Linked DNA regions of Homo sapiens: all the other regions are linked to region 1. The links are contacts of gene promoters, found by promoter capture Hi-C in blood cells and fetal thymus (Javierre and others, 2016). All regions are on one chromosome and are shown on one strand. The core of a region is centred on a gene start or on the middle of the fragment in contact, and the rest is flanking DNA. Distances in the headings are between cores, read along the strand shown. Region 1 holds the start of H2AZ2 (H2A.Z variant histone 2). Region 2 overlaps NUDCD3 (NudC domain containing 3). Region 3 holds the start of RAMP3 (receptor activity modifying protein 3). Region 4 has its middle 16 kb from the start of DDX56.

Region 1 (3,447 bases), core at 599-3,098:
TTTTTAATTGTGGAAACAGGCCAGGCGCGGTGGCTCACGCCTGTAATCCCAGCACTTTAGGAGGCTGAGGCGAGAGGATCACTTGAGGTCAGGAGTTCAAGACCAGCCTGGCCAACATGGTGAAACCCTATTTCTACTAAAAATACAAAAACTAGCGGGGAATGGTGGTGGGAGCCTTTAGTCCCAGCTACCCAGGAGGCTGAGGCAGGAGAATCGCTTGAACTCAGGAGGCGGAGGTTGCAGTGAGCCCAGATCACACCACTGCACTCCATCCAGCCTGGGCAACAGAGTGAGACTTCATCTCAAAAAGTAAATAAATAAATAAATTGTGTTAACACTGTGGAAGAAAAACGATCGCTGGAGAGCCTGTGCACTCACATACATCCTTTAATTTTTACAACAGCTTCCGGGGGAAGGCGATTCCACTTTAGAGCTTTTCTTCCTTTCTAGCTGGGAGTTATCCTCCAAATTTTAACCTAATGATGTAAGCAAAATAAACACACTGAAGAGGTTGAGAAAAGAAAAACGGCTCACAACAGTCTGAGCTCTGTGAGGTCTGCAAAATGTATTAGGCCTAGAGGGACATGAGTATGGGACTTCGGTTATGCCCACCCTCTGCCCCCACATACACACATACCCAATCCCATGCATACCCAATTGTTTAAAGTCATTTCATTCCTGACTATCGGCCTCATCCATTACCTTTTTTTTTATTATTATTTTTTAGACAGGGTATATTCTGTCTCCCAAGCTGGAGTGCAGTGGTGCGATCATGACTCACTGCAGCCTCGACCTCCTGGGCTCAAGAGATCCTCCTGTCTCAGTCTTGACAGTAGGTGAGGCTACAGGTTCGCGCCACCAAGCCGGCCCCATTATCTTCGTGTTCTTAGAATTTGTAATACATGCCGGGCGCGGTGGCTCACGCCTGTAATCCCAGTACTTTGGGAGGCAAAGGGGGGCAGATCACCTGAGGTCAGGAGTTCGAGACCAGCCTGACCAACACGGAGAAACCCCGTCTCTATTAAAAATACAAAAGTTAGCTGGGCATTGGGGCGCGCGCCTGTAGTCCCAGGACTCCATCTCTAAAAAAGGAAAAAGAATTTGTCATACAAATAACAATATGTAGCCAATTGATAGCTTTTGTTTTTGTTTGTTTGTTTTGAGACGATGCGTCGCCCAGCTGGAGTGCAGTGGCGCGATCTCGGCTCACTGCAACCTCCGCCTCCGGGGTTCAAGCGATTCTCCCGCCTCAGCCTGCCGCGGACCTTGTCAGGGTCCGCGCTGAGAGGACGTCAGGGTAGTCAGTCCGCCAGAATACGGCTGAGCATGAGGCCTGCCTAACCTTGAAACCCAGCGCCCTCCTGATCCACACGTTCTAAGACGAATAAATCCTCACAGTCTGTGAAAACCCACCAGGAGAAGCACGTCCAACACTCTTTACCTCCCCAAACAAGTCTCAGAAGCGGGAAAACCAACGCCGCGAATGGGCGGGAAAGCCACAGCGCCTGCAATCGCTTCACCTTATTAGCTAATTTTGCTGTCCTTCCCAGTGGCCCGCCTCCCTTGCTCGCGGGCGATATTTTTATTGGCTTTCGTCTGCGAGGCGTCCAATCTCATTGGTTTGCCTTTCTGTTCGTCAGGCTTGGGCGCCTGGTGAAAGGCAGAGAGCGCGTCACTATTGGGGCTGGAGGCCCCGCCTCCGCGTGCCGTGTGCAAAAACAAACAGCCGTTAGGAAGGCGGTGCCGGGGGGGCGGGGTCTGGCTAGAAGGAGGCGCGCGATTGAACAGCCGCTGGGGTTCGAACCAGCAAGACAAGCGGGCATTGGCCACAGCAGCGCGAGGCGGGCACGGGGTATTGTCCGGCTCCGGCGGCGGCGGTCGGTGCTGCGAGAGCGGCGGCGGCGGCGCGGGTCGGCAGCGGGAGGGCGCGCGGCCGAGCGGAGGCGGAGTCGGCGCCGAGAACATGGTAAGGGCGGCCGGGTGGGCCGGGGGCACGGGGCCTGGGAGAGCAGAGCGCGGAGGCCCTGGCGTCGGCGCCGCTACCTGTGGAGTCGGGAGTTTGCGGGTGTCTGGGCTTCGTCCGGCCGAGCCCCTCGCCGCCCGCCGGGGGGCGCCATGTCCCAGCTGCGGAGCCCGACACGGGTCCCCGGGTGAGAGCTGGGCCTGGCCGGGTAGAGCGCGAAGTCTGTTCCGAGCCGGATAGATCTGTCCCGACGCTTGTGACGCTGCACCGCCCGTCTTAGAAGGAGGAGGACGGCAGAATCCGGCTTGGAAATGTAGAAACAAGTGCTGGATCTTAATGTGATCGCTTCTCTGTATGAATGAGGTCAAACAGGCTGCCGCTGTACAAGTTAGATAAGTCTTTGGCGATGTTTGGTTACGTAATCTCCCTGGCAGTCAGTTTGAGGGTTTCTGCGAAAGGGTGCTTGTATTTGTGGTCTTTTGAGCGACAAAGAATGGTTTTATAGACCAGAACCACACGATTTGTTCTAGGTGATTGCACAGGTTAGAAATGAACGCCCGTTATCTTCTGAGCCCCTTGCAGTTTGCGGTTTTCATTATACAACAGTACTTTCCTTTGCCCTTGCTATGGATTTTCAGTCTTAAAGTATTCATCTTTTCATTCTGAAATTCAGATCTAGATAAGAAGAGTGTGGCTTTAAAAAAATGAAAGTGAATAGAACTTCAGCCCCATTTTAAAGTTGAGGGGAAAAGAGAAGGTGCTAAAGGATACGCTCTGAGTTGCATCAAAGATTGTGTAAAAATAATAAGACTGTTATGGAATCTTATTTTTGCCGGTATTCGTGCTTTAAGCATTCTGTTGAAAGGTTACTTCAACGGGAGCTACCTGCTTAAAAGTTAGCACCAAGCTGTCATTTATCATACTGCAGATAGTATTAGATGATTTGTCTTGTGCTTGATGTGACAGATATGGTATTGAATAGACATAACACCTAACTGTAAACAGATTGGCCAGTCGAGAGGACAATGTTTGGTTATTGTAAAATACCCAAATCTTAGAGCTGGAATAGACTTTAGGGATAATTGCTTCCAACGTCTAACGTATAGTTTATTGTTATTGTAAAAAACCCAAATCTTAGAGCTGGAATAGACTTTAGGGATAATTGCTTCCAACGTCTCACGTATAGTTTATTGTTATTGTAAAGTACTTTATAGTACTTTATCAAACTGAGGTACAGCTTACATCTAATCTGTAAAAGGATTTGCTCAAACAGATGATTTTCATGATTCTAGTTTTTTGTGGTTTTTTTTTTTTTTGGTTTTTTGTTGTTTGTTTTTTGTGGTTTTTTGTGGTTTTTTTTTTTGAGACGGAGTCTCACTCTGTTGCCAGGCTGGAGTGCAATGGGCGATCTTCACTCACTGCAACCTCCGCCTCCCGGGTTCAAGCGATGCTCCTGCCTCAGCCTCCCGAATAGCTACAGGCGT
Region 2 (3,447 bases), core at 337-2,836, 370 kb after region 1:
GCCTCCCAAGTAGCTGGGACTACAGGCGTGCACCACCTTGCCCAGCTGATTTTTGTATTTTTTGTAGAGATAGGGTCTTACCATGTTGCCCAGGCTGGTGTCGAACTGGTGAGCTCAAGTGATCCACTCGCCTCAGCCTCGTAAAGTGCTGGGATTATAGGTGTGAGGCACCATGCCTGGCCATTTTTTGGGAATATTTTTGATCCTCAGCAAATATTTTGGTAAATATTTTTTGGGAATATTTTGATTTGGGCTATGGAACCCATGGATAGCGAGGGCTGACTATATCTGCTGCTTCTGTTTCTTTGGTGGAACCTTGACTTATACAGATATTTTCATGATATAATGTTAAGTGAGAAGGGGAGAATTCAAACTATATAGTCTAATATCAAATTTGAAAACTTTAAAAATTATGTATGTAGAAAAAAAGCTGGAAGAAAATAGTAGTAGTAATCACAGAGTGGTGGAATTGTGAGTGTTCTTCATTTTTATCTTTGTCCCTTACTATATTTTCTAATTTTTCTGTAATGACCATTTATTTTGTTTTATTAATTTTTTTGTATTCCTTTTATGATCTCTAAAAAATGAAAGGAGGGTATTGGTTTTGATTTCTGAGTAATAGACTAGAATAGCTACTTTGTTGTTTTGTAGAGACCCTATTTTAAAATTCTTGAACCAGTGAATTTTGTTCTGGGTTAGAATTAGAGTTAGTTTTGTGAGTTCTACCTTAAAAATAAGTATAGAGTGAAGACTTGGATATGTTTCAGGAAAGCTAACCTTTCTACTTGGTAGCTCTTTGTTCAGAATAGACTGGTACCGCAAGAATCCTAATCAAACCTTTCCAAGGACTGGAACATTCTCAGCTTCAGTTACTTGTTTTCCTTGAACAAAACAGGAAGTTGTGGCACCGATCTCTAGTTATACCTGAAATGTAGTGTTTTAGCAGATTTGAAAATAGAATGTGAAAGACCATCCTTTTCCTTGTTCTACCTTTAGCTGCACCCCAAGTCCTCCCACCAGTGTTCAGGATGGTTTATCCTATAAATTATAGATCTGCAGTTCTTTTAATTGAGTAATTTAAGGTAGTTATTCTGTAGAAGACCACACAGAAGCACCATCTTTTGTGAGCACTCTGTCTAAAATCTGAGAATCTAAGTCTTAGATTGCTGATATCTGATGACTCTTACTTGACATGTTTTTCGGTTCTAACCAGTATTAGGCAAAAACTCCCTTTTTGTATACTACAGTAAAGTCACATCACATGCTTATTTAATTTAAATAAATTCAGTGTAAGTGCTGGGAAAGAAAGAAACAAGATTAAAAATAATGTATTTATATTTTGTATATATGTATTTTGAATTTTATTTTTTTAGAGACAGGATCTTGCTGTGTTTTTCAGGCTGAACTCGAACTTCTGGGCTCAAGTACTCCTCCTGCCTCTATATATGCATTTTTGTTGTAAGGTGTTCATTACTGTATACAGACAATTGTTTTGTGTTTTAGTAAAGTATAATTTATGTAACAATACAATTCATTCCTTTTAGAATACAGTTTATGACTTTGGACAAATGTAGTCTTGTAACCACCACAGTCAAGATAGATGACCAGTATGGTTTGGCTGTGTCCCCACCCAAATCTCATCTTGAATTGCAGTTCCCATAATCCTCACATGTCATGGGAGGGACCCGGTGGGAGGCAGTGAATCATGGGGGCAGTTATATCCATGTGGTTCTCGTGATAGTGAGTTCTCATAGACGGTTTTATAAGGGACTTTTCCCGCTTTGCTTGGCACGTCTTCCTGCTGGTATGTGAAGAAGGATGTGTTTACTTCCCCTTCTGTCATGATTGTAAGTTTTCTGAGGCCTCCCCAGCCATGCTGAACTGCGAGTCAATTAAACCTCTTTTCTTTATAAATTACCCCATCTTGGGTATGTCCTTATAGCAGCATGAGAATGGACTAATACAATGACATTTCCATTGGTGCCAGACTCCCAGATCCTGGCAACCTTGTGCCTGTGTTCTGCCCTAAAGCTGTTGCAGCATACATTGTTATTTATACATAATAATGTACAGGTTTCATTTATAGTATTTTTGGGGTGATTTGGGGGAAATTTTATTTTGACCTAATTTTACCATCACTCTGATTTTAGCATCTCCCTGACTAATAACCTACAATTGGTCTGAATTTCATTCTTGTTTCTGCCCTACTGTTGCTGCCAGGGCATGTCAAATGAAGATCAGAAATGCCCCCACCCCAGGGCTTAAAGGAACCTATCTTTTTCTTTTTTTAGACGGAGTTTTGCTCTTGTTGCCCAGGCTGGAGTGCAATGGCATGATCTCGGCTTACTGCAACTTCCACCTCCCAGGTTCAAGCGATTCTCCTGCCTTAGCCTTGCAAGTAGCTGGGAGTGCAGGTGCCTGCCACCATGCCTGGCTAATTTTTGTATTTTTTTAGTAGAGACAGGGTTTCACCATGTTGGCCATACTGGTCTGAAACTCCTGACCTTGGGTGATCCACCCATCTCGGTCTCCCAAAGTGCTGGAATTACAGGCGTGAGCCACCGCGCCCGGCCCAAAGTAAATAACCCATCTTATTCCTCAGAGAAGAGAGAGAATTTGCACACAGATATTTCCCTATTTGCACAAGATAGCATCAGAGAATGTGCTTATATTCTGTAAGGATGCTTTACAATTTTAATAGTTGTTCAGGCTGGGTGTGGTGGCTCATGCCTGTAATCTCAGCACTGTTAGAGGCCGAGGCCGGCTGATCATTTGAAGTCAGGAGTTTGAGACAAGCCTCACCAACATGGTGAAACTCTGTCTCTATAAAAATACAAAAAATTAACCAGGTGTGGTGGTGCGTGCCTGTAATCTCAGCTACACAGGAGGCTGAGGCAGCAGAATTGCATGAACCCGGGAGGTGGAGGTTGCAGTGAGTTGAGATTGTGCCACTGCACTCCAGCCTGGGCGACAGAGCAGAGCGAGACTCCATCTAAAAAAAAAAAAAAAAAAAAAAAAAGAATTGTTCATAGTAAAGACTTTGTAAAAAGTGAAAAAGTGCCATTTGAGCCTCAGTGTTTATGTAATACTAGACTGGGTGACCAGTGCCTGCAGACATGATTAGCACTGTGGAAGAGAGGGGCGCAAAGTCTGCAGCATCTTATGACGTAGTCACTAATCAGGCATTTCTCAAGAGCTGCCTGTTAGGGTTTGCCTCTTGGATGACCTCACGGTAGGGTTTGGTGTTGGTTTCCTGGGCATGGGCCGTCAGTGTCAACTTTCATAGCACCTGCAGTTCAGGCTCTTGACCTGCAGGTGTTGCTGTAGACAGTGGGATGGTGACTTTGCCTTTGCTTGTGCTGGGATGCTGACAAAAATCTCTGAAAGGCTGTGTCAGTCCTGGGCTTTTCCTTTTAAAAATCACGAGCAGAATTCTTTAACAGAGAA
Region 3 (3,447 bases), core at 509-3,008, 310 kb before region 1:
TAGACAACTGCTGGACTTCGCATCCCCACAGCCCCACACAGCATCAAATGCTTTCTGGAAAAAGGTCTGGAATTCTCAAAGAAGCCCCAGAGGCCTGCACCCTCCCTGCTGGTCCTCCTGAGCTAGTCCTCAGTCAAGAGGAACCCACCCAGCTCCTTCCTTCCAGACACAGCAGCATCCAGGGCAGATGTGGGTTCCAGTCCCGGATACCTCTGACACATCGGCCTGGGACCATGAGCAAGTTTTACCTCTCCCTGAATCTCACTCTGGCCAGTCGAACACTGGGAGGGTCTGCTGAGAAGCTGGACCTGGTCCCTATTCTGGCCAGGGAGCGTGAACCCATGTCCCATTGGAGGGGGACAGTCAGGACCAACACAACAGGACAAAGAAGTGGCCCTCAGGAACTGGGTCCACGAGAGACAGGATTATTAAGGGGGGATTCTGTGCAGGCGGAAGCCTGTGGTCCTTCTCAATTTGATACTGGAGATGATCAGGAAAGCCTCAGCTTCTCCCAGAATGAATTGAGAGGACCTTCCTTCCACTATAGCGACCAAGATCTCCACCTAAGGGGCGCTCACTGGAAGTTTGCTGAAATCCCAAATCAGCATGCTCCTGATTTCAGAAGCTGCCATCCACCTTTGCACTTCAACACAAAATCCACCACATCCTAGGCTCCAGCCCTGGAACACCAAATGAAGCCACACAAGTTCTGCACACCAAGACCTCTTCAATGGAAGGAAAATGACCACTGAGTTTGGTCCACCCTTTTCCCACCTCCCGTACCAAATCCCAAATCATCAAAACAGGCCCAACTCTGCATCTTACAGCCAGGGAAACTGGGGACCACCAGGCCAGGGCCCTCCATCACCAATGTCCCCCCCAGAACTGGCCAGGCTCAGTCACCACTCAGTGGACCCCAGCCCTCAGCAAGCACTCTTCCCCAACAGCCTTTACACACATTCTCTCTCTCTCTCTCTCTCTTACTTTTTCTTGGATAATTTCTTTAGCAAGGTACTTCAAAACAAGCTTTTAGTTTAATCTATTTCCATTTTGTGAGCAATGGTTCTTCCTAGAGTCCTGATTTCTTGCCGAAGAAGGCATTAGGAGAGGATGGCTCAGAGAGTCGCCCCGCTTCCCCTCTCAGCCAGTTCCAGGACACACACAGGCGTCCACACACTGAGGGGCCCTGGGAGGACCAGCTACCCAGTCCGGAGTCCACCCGCCCACGCCCCTGTGAGTGGTGGGCAGGCACTCAATGCCAGGACAGAGAGCTCACTACCTTACAGACAGCCCACCCTGGGGGATAAGGGGTAAAGAGCCAGACCTGGTCCACCTCTTCTCGCCCACCCTGAGGCGACCCCAGAACCGGGGCGTGGGGGGACATCACAACTAGAAGGACCGGGGGCTGCCGGACCCTGCCGTCAGAAGACCCCGGAGGGGGCCCTGTGCCTCCCTTGCCCGCCAGAGTCCTTCGCCTTCAGCTTCTCCCGGGTGGAACCCTCCCGCAGAGCCTGGGAATCCCGCCAGGGTCACTGTGCGCCCCTCCCGAGCTCCGGGGCAAGGGAAGGACCGCGGCGCAGGTGCGGGAAGGCGCGGGTCCACCCGGGTCCGGTGAACCCCGAGGAGTGGGGGCGCCCCCGGTGCGGGCCGTCGCCCCCTTACCGCAGAGCAGCAGCAGCAACGGGAGAAGTTGCGGGCGCCGCAGCGCTCCAGTCTCCATGGCTGGCCGGCCGCAGCTGGGTCACGCTCGGTCCCGCTGGGGGCGCGGCTGGGGGACGCCCGGTTGGGGTTGGGGTGGGGCGGGGCCTCAGGGGGTCCGCCCTCAGGCCGCACCCCCAGACCACGCCTGCGGCCGTGCCCCGTTGCCTCCAGATGTGGGGTGCAGTCCCTGCAGGCGCGCCGGGTGGGAGGGATGGGGGCGGCTGGAGTCTCAGCGGGGTGAGAGGGGGGCGAGGGCAGGGTTTCGAGCTGGGGACAAGCTGGGGTAAGGTGGGGTGCCGGCTGATGGGCTCTGAGGGCGGGGCTGGGGTGCTGAGCTGCAAAGGAGCTTTTTGGGAGCAGATTGTAGGGGCAGACTGGGAGGTGAGCTGGGGTGAGCGTGGGGGCCGGCTGACGGTGGGCTGGGATGCAGGCTGGAGAGACTTGGGGAACTTCCGTCCAGGCTCAGGGGCAGAGGGTGGGGGTAGACCGGGGAGGGAGCTGAGGTGAGGATGAAGCGCTGGCTGATGATGGCCTAGAGGAGTCTGGGGGTAGACTGGAGGAAGGTGGACCTGGGAGTGGGCTAGGTGTGCCCTGGCCGAAAGTAGACCAGAGTCCAGAGCTGCCCCCAGGCAGGGAGGGGAACTTTGAGCAGAGATACATCTAGGAGCCAGGTCTCCAAAGGTCAGGAAAGTGCATAAAAGAGGTTGGGGGGTGTGTGTGTGTGCGTCTGTGTGTGTGCGTGTGTGTGTTGTTCATGGAGTACGTGTGTGTGATGTGCATGTGGGGTGTGTGTAGATGCATGTGTGTGCATGGAGTGTGTGATGTATGGTGTGTGTGTGGCATGTGTGTGTTTGAGTCTGAGACAAGGTGTGTTTGTGAGTGTATGCTTGGGAAACAGTGTGTATGAGAGAGACTGGAGGGTGTGGCAACTACACACACAGAGACGTATCACACACCAAGAACCAAGCCACAAGCAAACCAAGGGACAGGAGAGTATCTGGCACCACCAAAGACCTGGCCTTGAAGAGTGTCAGGGTCCCTGAGGCGAAGGAGGGCCTCAGTTTCTCCAGCCACAGGTCACTTGGCCAGATGGGTCACCTCTGTCACCCTCAGCCCCTAGCACAGGCCCTGGCTCCAGTGGACACTTAATGGTGTCTTAAGAATTGTCACTGGTCAGGACTTCCGAGAGCCAGCTAGAGGCACCTCTCTGCCCTCCAGGGCCCACCCACCACCCCTGGGGGCACATGCTGGTCTGAGGTTGGGGCACAGGCCCAGGCTCCTACATGGATGGGCCCTCCACTCCTCTGAGCCGTAGGTACTGCTACCTTCCCAGGAGCTGAGCTGAACTTCTCCTGGCTTAGAAAGACCCACTTTATTTAACAAGACCCTTATTCGGGAGAAGAACTTTCTGTGCTTTTTTACTGAAGAAATTCTGATTACAGCCAGAATTAATTCAAAGGAGTCAAAACTAATTAAAATTGATCATTTGTCCTGCCTTCTGCCTGAGGGGTGGGCAGCAGGTGTAGGGGTGGCCACAGAGCCTCTAGTGAGACTGATGGTGCCCACAGCCAGGCCTTCTGCCCACAGGCCAGGGGTCATAAAACAAGCTGACCAGGGCAGCAGGGGGCTGGCTTACACACACGCACACCCTACACCAGCCAAGACAAACCAAGAGGATGGTCCAGGCCCAGGTGTCCACCCACATCCCACACAGACTCGGCCCTACAGCTCTCTCCAGGAGAGTCT
Region 4 (3,447 bases), core at 292-2,791, 290 kb after region 1:
AGCAGTGGGGAGATGGAGGGTCACACAGTCCTGAGTCTATGGCTTTGACAGCAACGGGTCCTGACTGCAGCTGTATTCGTGAAGCGAAGTACCTAATACAATCACCGAAATGTACAAATTGGACCCCTATAGGTTCAAGGATTCTTGGTGTAGGAGGTATGGCCCCCGCCCCGGGAACCAGGACCTCAGCTTTTAGAAGCAAAATGCATGAATGCAGTGATGGTTAGGCCAAGTGCCAAGGGAGACAGCCAACCCCTGCTATCATGGCCAGAGGAGGGAGAGACCACTCAGGCCTGGGTGGTGGTAGAAATCCTCACTGCCAAGGAGATTGTATGCGCAGGCGTTGGGAAGGCCCGGAGAAGCCTGAGAGACAGGCTTGGCTTGGTTATAGCAGAGCTGGGTGGAGGGAGCAGATTAGTTGGCTTAGCACAGGCTTCCTGCAGGGTGGTGGTTCTTGGCCAGATTTGCCCCAGTGGGGCTTTTGGGAAAGTATAGAAATATTGTTGTTTTTTTTTTTTTGAGACAGAGTCTTGCTCCGTTGCCCAGGCTGGAGTGCAGTGGTGTGTTCTTGGCTCACTACAACCTCCATCCACCTCCCGGGTTCAAGTGATTCTCCTGCCTCAGCCTGCCAAGTAGTTGGGACTACAGGCATGTGCCACCACACCCAGCTAATCTTTGTATTTTTAGGAGATGGGGTTTCACCATGTTGGCCAGGCTGGTCATGAACTCCTAACCTCAAGTGATCTGCCCGCCTCAGCCTCCCAAAGTGCTGGGATTACAGGTGTGAGCCACTGTGCCAGCCAAGAAACATTTTAGGTTATCATATCTGGGCAATGGATGCTACTGGCTTTAGGTGGGAAGAGGCCGGGGATACTGTTAAAATCATGCAATGTACAAGGCAGCCCCCACAAGAGAGTTCTGTGGTTGAAAATGTCCGTAGTGTTGAGGTTGAGGACTCTGCTGTGGGGCAACAGTAGGAGAAGGGGTGCTAATAGTCAGGTGGTGGACAGCAGGGAATTACAGGTACATCAGTTAGGAGTGTATACAGCTGCAAGTAAGAGACCACCAGATGGCAGGAACAGTGGGAACAGAATGGTTTATCTTTTTCATGTGTCAAGATAAGTGGTGCTAAAGTCAGGCATGGTGGCCCTCACTTATAATCCCAGCAATTCAGGAGGCTGAAGAGTGAGGATCACTTGAGGCCAGGAGTTCAAGACCAGCCTGGGCAACACAGTGAAATGCCATCTCTAAAAATAAAAATTAAAAAAATTAGCCAGGGGCTGGGTGCAGTGGCTCACGCCTGTAATCCCAGCACTTTGGGAGGCTAAGGCGGGTGGATCACCTGAGGTCAGGAGTTCGAGACCAGCCTGGCCAACATGGTGAAACCCTGTCTCTACTAAAAATATAAAATTAGCTGGGCATGGTGGCACACCTGTAATTCTACTTACTCGGGAGGCTGAGGCAAGGGAATCACTTAGAACTGGGGAGGCGTAAGTTGCAGTGAGCTGAGTCACGCCATTGCACTCCAGCCTGGGCGACAGATCAAGACCCTGTCAAGGAAAGGAAAGGAGAGGGGAGGGGAGGGGAGGGGGGAGGGGGGAGGGGGGAGGAGAAGGAGGGAGGGGGAAGATTAGCTAGGCATGGTGATGAGCACCTGTAGTCCCTCCTAGCTACTCCGAAGGCTACGGTGGGAGAACTGCTTGAGCCTGGGAGGTCAAGGCTGCAGTTAGTGATGATCGTGTCACTGCACTCCAGCCTGGGTGAAAAAGTGAGACCCTGTCTCAAAAAGAAAAAAGACAGATAGGAAGAAAGAAAGAAGAAAAGAAAGAAAAAGAGAGAGAGAGAGAGAGGGAGGGAGGGAGGGAAAGGAAAGGAAGGAAGGAAATGCATCTGATTTTTGTGTATTGATTTTGTATCCTATAATTTTGCCAAGTTCATTTATTAGTTCTAGTAATTTTTTTTATTAAAAAAAATTTTCAAGATAGGGTCTCACCCTGTTGTCTAGGCTGGAGTGCAGTGGCACGGTTATAGCTCACTGCAGTCTCCATTGCCAGGACTCAAACAGTCCTCCTGCCTCAGCCTCCTGAATAGCTGGGACTACAGGCATGCCAGCATGCCTGGCTAATTATTTTATTTTTTGTAGAGATGGGGTCTCACGTTGTTGCCCAGGCTGGTCTTAAACTCCTGGGCTCAAGTGATTGTCCTGCCTCAGTCTCCCAAAGTGCTGGGATTATAGGCATGCTCCACCACACTCAGACAAGTTATAATACATTTTCAGTGGCGTATTTACTGTTTTAGAATATAAAATCTATCTGCAAATAGAGATAAGTTTAATTTTTTTCTAATTTGGACACTCTTTTCCTTCCTCCCTCCCCTTCCCCTTTCCCTTCCCCTTCCCTTTTCCCTCCCTCCCTCTCTCCCTCTCTTTCTCTCTCTCTCTTTCTCTCTTTTCTCTTTTCTTTTCATTTCATTTTTGCCAAATTGCTCTGGTTAGAACTTTTAACACTATGTTGAATAGAAGTGGTGACAGTATCTCATTCCTAGACACTTTTCGAAAGAAGACATACATGCAACCAACAAACATTTGAAAAAAAACTCAATATCACTGATCATTAAAGAAACAGAAATCAAAACCACAATGAGATACCATCTCACATCAGCCAGAATGGCTATTATTAAAAAGTAAAAAAAAGAAAAAATAACATGCTGGCAAGGTCATAGAGAAAAGGGAACACTTGTACAGTGTTGGTGGGAGTGTAAATTAGGTCAACCATTGTGGAAAGCAGCGTGGCAATTCCTCAGAGACCTAAAGGCAGAACTACCATTCGACCCAGCAATCCCATTACTGGGTATATACCCAAAGGAATGTAAGTTGTTCTGCCATAAGGACACATGCACACGTCTGTTCATTGCAGCACTATTCACAATAGTAAAGACATGGAATCAACCTAAATGCCCATCAATGACAGATTGGATAAAGAAAATGTACATATATGTCATGGAATACTATTCAGACATAAAAAAAGACATGTGATTATGTCCTTTGCAGGAACATGGATGGAGCTGGAGGCCATTATCCTTAGCAAACTAACGCAGGAACAGAAAACAAAATACCACATATTCTCACTTATATTCTCTCACTAAATGATGAGAACTCATAGGCACTAAGAGGGGAACGACAGATGCTGGAACCCAGTGGAGGGTGGGAGGAGGGAGAGGAGCAGGAAAAATAACTATTGGGTACTAGACTTAGTACCTGGGCGAGAAAATAATCTGTACAACAAACCCCCGTGACACAAGTTTACCTATATAACAAACCTGCATATGTACAACTTAATGTAAAATAAAAGTTAAAAAACAAGGCCAGGCATGGTAGCTCATGCCTGTAATCCCAGCCTTTTGGGAGGCCGAGGTGGGCGGATCACTTGAGGTCAGGAGTTTGAGACC

Evidence for each region. Contacts are between HindIII fragments. The CHiCAGO score rates a contact against its expected background, and 5 or more counts as called.
Region 2: a fragment that was not itself captured here is called in contact with the fragment with the promoter of H2AZ2 in region 1 in 1 of 17 cell types (monocytes); the score reaches 7.5 in monocytes.
Region 3: a contact is called between the fragment with the promoter of RAMP3 here and the fragment with the promoter of H2AZ2 in region 1, in 12 of 17 cell types (erythroblasts, total B cells, non-activated CD4 T cells and 9 more). The highest score is 8.6, in erythroblasts.
Region 4: a fragment that was not itself captured here is called in contact with the fragment with the promoter of H2AZ2 in region 1 in 12 of 17 cell types (total CD8 T cells, naive B cells, total B cells and 9 more); the score reaches 10.9 in total CD8 T cells.

What each region holds. Positions count from the first base shown.
Region 1 is chr7:44,846,488-44,849,934 of GRCh38, reverse strand. H2AZ2 (H2A.Z variant histone 2) reads left to right here and starts at 1,848. Exons shown (of 5, transcript NM_012412.5): 1 at 1,848-1,966. The coding sequence starts at 1,964. It overlaps H2AZ2-DT (H2AZ2 divergent transcript), which reads right to left and starts at 1,464. Exons shown (of 2, transcript NR_187581.1): 1 at 1,414-1,464; 2 at 370-476. RefSeq lists silencers at 1,513-1,572, 1,833-2,222 and enhancers at 1,149-1,707, 1,708-2,265. The HindIII fragment of the contact is 6,622 bases long and covers 1-3,447 here.
Region 2 is chr7:44,477,395-44,480,841 of GRCh38, reverse strand. All of the region lies in intron 2 of NUDCD3 (NudC domain containing 3), which reads left to right. Among named protein-coding and RNA genes, the nearest start is that of NUDCD3, 12 kb to the left of the region's middle. RefSeq lists a silencer at 3,198-3,447. The HindIII fragment of the contact is 6,664 bases long and covers 1-3,447 here.
Region 3 is chr7:45,156,102-45,159,548 of GRCh38, reverse strand. It overlaps RAMP3 (receptor activity modifying protein 3), which reads right to left and starts at 1,758. Exons shown (of 3, transcript NM_005856.3): 1 at 1,663-1,758. The coding sequence starts at 1,720. The HindIII fragment of the contact is 23,160 bases long and covers 1,029-3,447 here.
Region 4 is chr7:44,556,616-44,560,062 of GRCh38, reverse strand. No RefSeq gene overlaps it. Among named protein-coding and RNA genes, the nearest start is that of DDX56, 16 kb to the left of the region's middle. The HindIII fragment of the contact is 4,749 bases long and covers 1-3,447 here.